3 separate regions of the Homo sapiens genome follow, and all the other regions are linked to region 1. Evidence: promoter capture Hi-C in 16 types of primary human blood cells and fetal thymus (Javierre and others, 2016). All regions are on one chromosome and are shown on one strand. Each heading gives the region's core, a stretch centred on a gene start or on the middle of the fragment in contact. The rest is flanking DNA. Distances are from core to core; before and after follow the strand shown. Region 1 holds the start of TSSK4 (testis specific serine kinase 4). Region 2 has its middle 11 kb from the start of PSMB5. Region 3 overlaps RBM23 (RNA binding motif protein 23).

Region 1 (3,487 bases), core at 493-2,992:
TGAGGCAGGAGAATCGCTTGAACCCAGGAGTTGGAGGTTGTAGTGAGCCAAGATCGTGCCATTGCACTCCAGCCTGGGCAACAAGAGCGAAACTCCATCTCAAAAAAAAAAAAAGAGAAAAAAGGTCCTATGCCAAGTTCTCAAGGAAGATTTGGAGTTTGCCACAAATACAGAAAAGCAGTTGTGGATCATTACGTGTGTGTTAAAAAATAAAATTGGGGAGGTAAGCAGGATCAGACTTAAAGCTGTGTGAAAGAATTTGGATGGACTTGATCCTAAAGAGAATGGGGAGACACTGAATTGTTTCAAATGGAAATAAAATCAGATTTATGCTTTGGACTTGGGATGGACAGACTGGAGTGGAGCAGAAGGCTGGCGGGGGCCATCTGTTCGATGATGGAGGCGTGAACTAAGGGATTAGCAGTGGGCTCAGAAAACCATGAGAATATTATCAAAGAGAGAATCAGGAGGTATAAGAGATAGGATTTCGTGATAGATTGAATGTAGGGACTGAGGCAGGAGGGTCTGGGATGACATATGAGTGTCTAAATTAAGGGTGATTAGTGTACAACTCACAGAAAAGTCTGAGAGAAGAAAATAAGTTCAATTATTGATATGGTTAAGTTTGAGATGGATATGGTAAGTTCCATGCCTGGGGCAGACATGGCCACGTAATACTGGCTGCTCTATCTAAACTCCAGATATATGGGATGGAGATGAAATTAGGAGCAGTCAGCATAAATGTAGTATTGACACCATGGGTATGGACAAGATTAAGGGAGGATGTGAAGGTTTGAGAAAATAAAGCTTGTGATGTAACACTTGGGATATGATTAAGGGATGGATAGAGAAAGATATAACTTCAGTGAAGGCTGAGGAGTGACCAGAAGGATGTGGAGGAAAACTAGAGAGTTCTGGCTCATAGAAGATAAGGATGCATTTCAAGGTTAGATTTTCCTAGAACATGTTCAATACCTTACAATGGTAATACTTTCACACTCGTATTTCTCATGCTGCATTATAAGCTTTAGGATCATAGTGTCTCTATTGGCCTTATTGAACTAAGGGGGCTGCAATGGGCTCGGAAAGCCTTGAGTGTATCATTAAAGAGATAAGTAGGAGATAGCAGAGACAGGATTTGATGAAAGATTGTATGTAGGGATTGAGGAAGGAGGAAGGGTCTGGCATGACATTTGGGTGACATTTTATCCAAGTATTCAGCACAGTGTCTGGTACTTAGTAGGTACTCATATATCAATGAAAGGTCTGATCTTTAGGAGTTTCACCAGACTGTGGAAGGTGCCTCTGGGAATGAGTACGTTTCCAACTGCACTTCATTCTCTTTTTTTTTTTTTTTTTTTTTGAGACGGAGTCTCGCTCTGTCGCCCAGGCTGGAGTGCAGTGGCGCAATCTCGGCTCACTGCAAGCTCTGCCTCCCAGGTTCACGCCATTCTCCTGCCTCAGCCTCCCAAGTAGCTGGGACTACAGGCGCCCGCCACTACGCCCGGCTAATTTTTTGTATTTTTAGTAGAGACGGGGTTTCACCGTTTTAGCCGGGATGGTCTCGATCTCCTGACCTCGTGATCCGCCCGCCTCGGCCTCCCAAAGTGCTGGGATTACAGGCGTGAGCCACCGCGCCCGGCCGCACTTCATTCTCAAGTTTTGTGGCCAACGATGGATAGGAGGTGGATTGTGATGTATTCGGAACATGGGACCTTGAGGAGTTCCGTAACCAAAAGGAGAAAGTAACAACAGCCAGTGGAGACAAAAAGAACTGCTTCTCTTTCTTTCCCCCTCCAAGTTCCTAGTGGAGGGCTGAGTCCAGCATCCCAGACTCGTGTGACTATATAGGCAAGCATTTGGGGACCTACTTCACTTTGATACCCTAGCCTTCAGCAGCTCAAGGTGTTGGCCTTTGGATAGGAGGCTTCCAAGTAGTAAAGCTCCCTGCTCTCAGCAAGCCCAACACCATGGGGAAGGGAGATGTCTTAGAGGCAGCACCAACCACCACAGCCTACCATTCCCTCATGGATGAATATGGTTATGAGGTGGGCAAGGCCATTGGCCATGGCTCCTATGGGTCGGTATATGAGGCTTTCTACACAAAGCAGAAGGTTATGGTGGCAGTCAAGATCATCTCAAAGAAGAAGGCCTCTGATGACTATCTTAACAAGTTCCTGCCCCGTGAAATACAGGTTGGAAAGGGGGCTGGAAGAGGGAACTGGAGCTTGGTACTAAGCTGCTTGAGGTTTCTCAGAAGGGGTATGGCCAGGAGGGGTGGGGCCAGAAACCCCTAAACCAGAACTGAAATGTCTCACTAAGCAGCTAGGAAACTTTATGTAAGTTAAACCTCTTTCCCATCCACCCACTCACCTTCAGTCCCCAAAAAGTAAAGGCACAAAACATAGCATTTGCCCACAGGCCACCAGTTCTCTGGGGTTGAGGGGCTGATCCTATTGCAAAGTCCTAAGTCAGTAGCTGAGGGTAGGAGACGGCTGGGAGTGCAGTCAGGGTTCTCCCTTCCCAGGTTTGATGGGTCCTTCTTCTGGGGTCAGGTAATGAAAGTCTTGCGGCACAAGTACCTCATCAACTTCTATCGGGCCATTGAGAGCACATCTCGAGTATACATCATTCTGGAACTGGCTCAGGGTGGTGATGTCCTTGAATGGATCCAGCGCTACGGGGCCTGCTCTGAGCCCCTTGCTGGCAAGTGGTTCTCCCAGCTGACCCTGGGCATTGCCTACCTGCACAGCAAGAGCATCGTGCACCGGTGAGGGCGCTGCCACCCAGACTGGGGCCTTTGCCCTCAAGGGGGTTTTATGCACATCTCCCATTTCCTGTCCTTTTTTCCTCTTTCGAACTCCCTCCTCAATATCTAGCCTATTCATGCACTCTATTTTAATCATATGGTCAAGGATACTGATAAAGTACTCACTGTATGCAAAGCATTTTATGAAATACAATGGTGAGCTCCCGGTGGTCCTCAGATACCATCCTCTGTCTCTCTCCCTACTTTGGGCTCTGCTCACAACTCCATGGCTTTCCTTCCTCTCTACCTTGTGCCCTCATAATGGTTTCTACCTCCCACTTCCTCTGTCCTCATCTTTACCCTCTGACCCCTGGCCCTTCAGCTCCCAGTCTAAAACTAAGCCCTCTCCCCAGCCTGATGCCCAGCCTTTCTGCTGCTGGTAGGGACTTAAAGTTGGAGAACCTGTTGCTGGACAAGTGGGAGAATGTGAAGATATCAGACTTTGGCTTTGCCAAGATGGTGCCTTCTAACCAGCCTGTGGGTTGTAGCCCTTCTTACCGCCAAGTGAACTGCTTTTCCCACCTCAGCCAGACTTACTGTGGCAGCTTTGCTTACGCTTGCCCAGAGATCTTACGAGGCTTGCCCTACAACCCTTTCCTGTCTGACACCTGGAGCATGGGCGTCATCCTTTACACTCTAGTGGTCGCCCATCTGCCCTTTGATGACACCAATCTCAAA
Region 2 (3,590 bases), core at 532-3,031, 1.2 Mb before region 1:
AAACATGGAACGAGGCAAAGGGAGGAACAGCCTAAGATGGGGCCGGGGATAAGTAATGGGAAGCATCAGAACGTGTCGAACCCATGGTGTCTTATTTCTTTTCAAATAAACTGGGTCATATCTTTATGGCTGATGACAGCTTAATCTGGACCATAAAGAGTTAAATACCAGCTTAAGCTTGGCACCTAACTCAGAGGCAAAAGCTTCTGGGAGAAATGAGTTGGGTCAAATAAGCCCAAGAAGCTGACGTGGGTAGAATTTCTTCTGCTTGACCCACTAACAACTGCAAAGGGGACATTTTAGAAATGTTTTTTATTGAAATGCTTCAGTGGGGGCAGAGCTCCTGGAAACCAGAACTTGGCTCTGAAGCCACGCCTGGGGAGCACGGGAGGCTGACTTGGGGGGAAAAAGAGGGGTGGCCCAGGTCAGGTAGAAGGTGGCAGCAGCTGCTGATCAGGGCAGTTCTGATTGCTGTTTGAGCTCCCTCTTGCCCACTATAATTAAAGCATTCCCAGTATGATTCTGGCTTCCTGAAGGGAAACTAGAATTTATAAAAACAAACAAGAAACAAACGCAAAACAGCAGAGGTGCTTGGTTGCAATATATGTATATTTTAAATTATAGAGCACTGCTCTATACTCCATACAGTTTCAAAGTCCGTATCTGTTATAGCCCTGGGAGCAGGTCAGGGGAAGATCTAACAAAAGAAACAAAAATAAAAGAAAATTAAAAACCTAAATGTATCCACCGAAAATTAGATATGGTCATGTAGATTCTCTCCTAACCCAATCATCCTATCCTTGTTACTCCTGACACAAGGGAAATGCTCCCCTCAAAATTTCCATCCACCTTTTTTTTTCTACTTTATTCTCTTTTCATCCCACCTCTTTCTTCCTTCCCCTAACAGACCACATAGAATCCGTGGGCCAGAATAAATCAGTTATTTTATTTCCCCTCGGAGGATGTGACCTTCCACTCCCCAAATGGCTCTGACAGTTTTCTCATTTGCTAGCTGAGGAGGATATCAAGAGACACTGACCTTCTGGTTTTGCCTAAAGAGGAACACTCAGTAACTATTATCCTTCAGTCTTTGATTTGCGTTAACTGTGCCCTTCCTCCCTCCTCCCCCACATCCTCACCTACCTTTTCACCTTCCTTCATGAACATTCTACTCACCCCACAGTGCACTGCTACTCCCCACAGCCCTCCCTTGCCTGGTGTGCAGATGCTGGAAGGCTAGCAAGAGAAAGCAAGGGGCCTCCAGGAGTATTTGCTCCCTATTTAATCAGATTAGTCCCATCACCTACCCCGAGGAGCCAGATTTTGGTGTTACTGAGTTATCTGTTGAGGGAAGAGAAGTTGTCAGACATCACTTAAAGAGCCCAGTCCCTTGGACGCCTGGGAACTGCTGAGAGAAATTAATCTTCCAGCTATTTAAGGCGATTTCTTTTCCATCATCCTTTGTCAAGAGGACTGTACTGGGAAATGAATCTGATGGGAGTCCCTGAACTGGTACACTCCACTCAAAAACATCTCTCCAATCCTATGCGGCATCCATCATTCCCACACAAGCGGAGACACACATCGCTGCAAAGCCAATTTCCCCCCAGTAACCATCAGCAAGAAATCACAAATGCACAGGGTGGATACCACTAGCCTACAGACTTGCAGTTTTTCCCTACCTCTGCTCTACTTTCTTCCCAGAAAAACCTACCACAAATCGAGCTCTTCCATTAAATGAGTCTTTTACCCAAGACCCAGGAAGGTAGATCAACAGGGATATGCCAGAACAGAACATGCATTTTCTCTTCTAACATAAGGACTCTGCCAGTGCAGAATAGGTGTTTCCGTTAAACAGCTAAACCACTGCCAAAGCAAAGTGTGAGACAGAAACAGGGCAAAGGGTTGCATTGTTTCACGATCATCTCTTCTCTCCAGAATGAATTTTCTGTTCATGGACCAAAGCTGGGGTCTTATGCTCTCTGGGGTCATGTAAGGAAATTCCAATCTTCAATTCTCTTTCTATCCTTAAGGCTATTTCCCAGGGAAGAGGTGTTCAAATTGTGTTCCTTGAGGTTCCAAGAAGTGCCAGGGACTGTGTATGTGTATGGGGCTAACAAAGGGTGCTGCGGGGAGTGGCTGGATGGGGAAGCTCAATAGTGGAGGCTCTGGACCTCTCAGCTCAATTTCAACCTCTGATTTTTTTTTCAGGCATTGGGATTTCTCCTAAGAGTGCTTTTTTTTTTTTCTTTTTTTTTTTTAAGATCTGCAAACCAATGTCCTAAGTGGGAGGAAGATGACCTACCTGTGCTTCTCACGCAGCTAACCATTTCCCAACAGTCTACGAGAAGGAAGATGTAGCTTGGGTCCTGCCTATTTCTTTCTTTCTTTTTTTTTTTAGATGGAGTTTTGCTTTTGTTGCCCAGGCTGGAGTGCAATGGCACCATCTCGGCTCACTGCAACCTCTGCCTCAGCCTCCCAAGTAGCTGGGATTACAGGTGCCTGCCACCACACCCAGCTAATTTTTCGTATTTTTAGTAGAGACAGGTTTCACCATGTTGGCCAGACTGGTCTCAAACTCCTGGCATCAAGTGATCTGCCTGCCTCCGTCTCCCAAAGTGCTGGTGCTGGGATTACAAGCCTGAGCCACTGTGCCCCGCCCAGCTCCTGCCTATTTCAACCATGTAGTCTGAGTCCACACCAGCAGCTCCCTGACTGCAGGGGCTCCTGAGATACTTTCCTGCAAAAAATTTCCTTAGGCACGAGTCATTTGTTTTCCAAACCCCCTTCTCCGATTTCACTAATTCCCAATTTCCCTGCATTTGACAAATGCAATTAACAAGCCTCGATCAGTTCCTGGCCGACAGCCCTCATCAATCAATACGAAGACTGCACAAGGCTGAGGGGGAAGGGAAGGTAGCTGCAGTACAGGAGAGGAGGGTTTACCCCCTCTTCTTCTGTGAATGACTTCTCCAAACCTCTCAGTCTCAAAACATGACACTGGGTTGTCACCTTCACCAACCACTTTCTGCCTTCTGACTAAATACAAGGTGGTATTGTTTGTGTCCTCCGCTCCCATTTTTTAAAGGTTTCTCCCATCAACCTCCTCTATCCCCTGTCTTCTCTTTAACAGAAGGCCTTGCCATCTGCTGCCACCATAGCTTGGGAACTCCCCCCAGCCCCAACAGTGCTGGGTGTGATAAATCAGCCATCTCTCTGCTCTCAGCAGGGCCTCTTCCCCACCCACACATTCCAGTGACAATTTAGTGCTGCTTCCTGACCAGGAGGCTATAAAATCACCATCACTACCCTCTCCCCTCCACACATATGCACTGGAGGACCAAAAGGACAAGGGTCACCAAGCTTGTGGTTACTACTGCTTTCACAGCCACTTCTTTGTCCTCCCCTTCCCAGGGTCCAAGCCTTCCCTTCCCAGTTGGTTTAAGAGTCAAGATTTACCCTCTTCACCCTTCCGCTCTGCATGTAGCCTCAGCCTCCCTTCCCCCACCACAGGGTGACAGCCTTTTCCGCTGGAGCCCTGCCTGGTACAGCCCTGTGCATCTTTCCACCTCATCAACTTTTCATCTCTT
Region 3 (3,370 bases), core at 14-2,513, 1.3 Mb before region 1:
CATGGGTTTGAGCATCAGAATCAATGGGACTTGGCAACTTAGTGGATGAGTATAAAGAGAGGAAAAAGTTGTAGGTGGTGAGAGGATGGTGCAGAACTTGGAGTAAAGGGGCAGAGGAGGTAGTGAGAGTAAGGAGCTCCATTTTGGAGACACTGAATTTGAGATGCTAGAAGAACATCTATATAGAGTTTCAGCAGCTCTCTAGAGTTGAATCTGAATCTGAAATTCAGAACAAGTTGGGACAAGAGAAACAGATTTGAGAATAATTACCATAAAGATAGTAGTAGAAGAGCAAGGAGAAAAGGTGACCTGTGCAGTCACATAGGGCCCTAAGCTTAGTTTAATGTTCTGCTGTTATGTTCTTAAAATTCTTCGAACAAGGAGCCCTGTATTTTCATTTTGCAAGGGGATCCACAATTATACTAAGGGAGAAGGTGCAGTACAGGCTGGGATCCTTACCCCAGACTACTGATGGAGTCTGCGTCTTGTGAAATGGTACATACAATCTGATGTATTTGTGTAGTCATACCTGTGTCTGAGAATAGGGTTCATGAATTTCATCAGATTCACAAAAGGGTTTGTTACAGGCCAGGCACAGGATGGCTCATGCCTGTAATCCCAGCACTTTGAGAGGCCGAGGCGGGTAGATCACCTGAGGTCAGGAGTTCGAGACCAGCCTGGCCAACATGACGAAACCCCATCTCTACTAAAAATACAAAAATTAGCTGGGCATGGTGGCACATGCCTGTAATCCCAGCTACTTGGGAGGCTGAGGCAGGAGAATTGTTTGAACCCAGGAGGTGGAGGTTGCAGTGAGCCGAGATCGTGCCACTGTACTCCAGCCTGGGCAACAGAGTGAGATTCTGTCAAAAAAAAAAAAAAAAAAAAAAAAGATGGTACTGGCTGCTTCTGGAAAGGGGAACTGGGTGAGTAGAAGACCAGGATGGGAAGCTGACTTTTCATTGTATGCCCTTTTTCTTTTCTTTTCTTTTCTTTTTTGAGACGGAGTTTCACTCTTGTTGCCCAGGCTGGAGTGCAATGGCACGATCTCACTGTAACCTCCGCCTCCTGGGTTCAAGCGATTCTCCTGCCTCAGCCTCCCGAGTAGCTGGGATTACAGGCATGTGCCACCACACCCGGCCACTTTTGTATTTTTGGTAGAGATGGGGTTTCTCCATGTTGGTCAGGCTGGTCTCAAACTCCCAACCTCAGGTGATCCGCCTGCCTCAGCCTCCCAAAGTGCTGAGATTACAGGCCTGAGCCACCGCGTCCAGCCTGTATGCCCTTTTTCTACCTTTGGAAATTTTTTTTTTTTTTTTTGAGACAGAGTCTTGCTCTGTTGCCCAGGCTGGAGTGCAGTGTGGCACAATCTCAGCTCACTGCAAACTCCACCTCCTGGGTTCAAGCGATTCTCCTGCCTCAGTCTCCCGAGTAGCTGGGATTACAGGTGCCCACCACCACGCCCAGCTAATTTTTGTATTTTTAGTAGAGACGGGGGTTTCACCATCTTGGCCAGGCTAGTCTTGAACTCCTGACCTCATGATCCACCCACCTCAGCCTCCCAAAGTGCTGGGATTACAGGCGTGAGCCACCGCGCCTGGCCTACCTTTGGAACTTTTAACTGTGTCATTTAGTACCACTTCAAAAATGAAACGAAATAGGCCGGGCACAGTGGTTCACGCCTGTAATCCCAGCACTTTGGGAGGCCAAGGCCGGTGGATCATGAGGTCAGGAGTTCAAGACCAGCCTGGCCAAGATAGCGAAACCCCATCTCTACTAAAAACTACAAAAATTAATCAGGCGCAGGGGTGGGCACCTGTAATCCCAGCTATTCGGGAGGCTGAATCGCTTGAACCTGGGTGGCAGAGGTTGCAGTGAGCTGAGATCATGCCACTGCACTCCAGCCTGGCGACAGAGAGAGACTCCGTCTCAAAAAAAAAAAAAGAAAGAAACAAAATAATTTAAAACAAAGCCTTAGGGGTCCAGAGAAAGAAGAGGGAACAAGGAGATCCTGGGGATATATAGATGGAGAAGGTGGAGAAGCAGCTGCCAAAGAGGTAGTGGGAGAACTAGGATTGAGCCTGTTGTGACTGCTGCCAGAGGAGGGGTTTCTAGGAGAGTATCACCAATGGTCAGATGTGGCCAGAGAGGAGGATGAGGAACAAGAAAGGCCCAGTGCCTTTTACGTGGCAGAAGCTTAAAACATGTCTTTCGTGTATGGAAGACCATGATGGCAAGACCTCCCCCACGAGGGGAGCCACACACCATGAGCCTCCCTCCCCCAACTCAGCCAGTCCCATCAGCCCGACCCATCTGTGTGTTCCCTCCAGACGCCTACAGGGAATAGCTCAGAACAGACGGAAGCTGAAGCCAGGCTCCCGCCAGACTTGGGAGAGGTGAGGCCTTCTCTGAGAGCCAGGCCATTCTCTCTTTCTCTCTCAAGGCAAAGTAGAGCCATTGATCTTGGCTGGGGTGAGAGGTCAGCAGAGGGCACTGGGACCTGAGCTGCCATGCCAGGTAAGGTCCTTTCTGTCCTCATGCATCTCTTAACCACTGCAATTTTGTCTTGGAGTCCGTGTTCCCTTACCAGCCCCTGCCCAGCCCCTGCTACTCCCACTCCCCTTTGCCCACAAGACCGCCTCATTGGCCCAGAGCATAGACTTTGTGTGCTCTCCCCTGAGGGTCAGAGGAACGGGGGAGTCCTGCATCTGGAAATTTTTCCACTCTGGGCCTCTGCCTACAGATGAGCTTTTAGGCCGTGCTGCATCTGAGCCCTCTAGAGAGACTGGAACAGGGGCTCTTCTCTTCTGAAAGACTGCCGGGGTCATACGTGGAAGTCCTCTGGGTTAAACCCTCACTCCCAGGAAGTTCACACACACACATCTTTTTATTAATCTAATATAGTTTCAATCCACATCAATCTAAGTAAATTTTCCTGGACATTTTAATCTTTCATCCACAAATGCTAGAAGACATTTTGTTTCTCTCAAGTACTAAACATCTGCAATATGCCAATCAGTGTGCCGGGCCCAATGGGGAAAACAAATACAAATAAGACACAATTTCTGCCCGTCAAATAGCTTGCAATTAAGCTGGGGAGATGGATGAGGTGATACAGCACAAAACAGGCAAAATAGCAGCAAACAATACCACATTCTATCTAACTGGGGGCTACCTCATGTGCTCCAGGAATTCTGAATGGAAGAAACAGTAAATTTGGAAGACATATTTTAGAAACTGGGCCTTAAAGGATATGTAGGCTATAGATAGTTGAGAGAAAGAAGGAAAAGCATTCCTTGTGGTCAAACTACATGAGCAAATGCACAGAGAAGAAACAGTGGGCAGCCCACCACATGAGGAAAAGGCCCTT

The links. Contacts are between HindIII fragments. The CHiCAGO score rates a contact against its expected background, and 5 or more counts as called.
Region 2: a contact is called between a fragment that was not itself captured here and the fragment with the promoter of TSSK4 in region 1, in 1 of 17 cell types (total B cells). The highest score is 5.3, in total B cells.
Region 3: a contact is called between a fragment that was not itself captured here and the fragment with the promoter of TSSK4 in region 1, in 1 of 17 cell types (activated CD4 T cells). The highest score is 6.2, in activated CD4 T cells.

The regions. Positions count from the first base shown.
Region 1 is chr14:24,203,954-24,207,440 of GRCh38, forward strand. TSSK4 (testis specific serine kinase 4) reads left to right here and starts at 1,743. Exons shown (of 4, transcript NM_001184739.2): 1 at 1,743-2,195; 2 at 2,556-2,770; 3 at 3,163-3,487. The coding sequence starts at 1,971. RefSeq lists an enhancer at 1-274. The HindIII fragment of the contact is 3,453 bases long and covers 1,024-3,487 here.
Region 2 is chr14:23,022,048-23,025,637 of GRCh38, forward strand. No RefSeq gene overlaps it. Among named protein-coding and RNA genes, the nearest start is that of PSMB5, 11 kb to the right of the region's middle. RefSeq lists an enhancer at 3,070-3,159. The HindIII fragment of the contact is 3,160 bases long and covers 202-3,361 here.
Region 3 is chr14:22,890,336-22,893,705 of GRCh38, forward strand. It overlaps RBM23 (RNA binding motif protein 23), which reads right to left. Exons shown (of 14, transcript NM_001077351.2): 14 at 2,869-3,370. Among named protein-coding and RNA genes, the nearest start is that of REM2, 8.8 kb to the left of the region's middle. The HindIII fragment of the contact is 1,862 bases long and covers 333-2,194 here.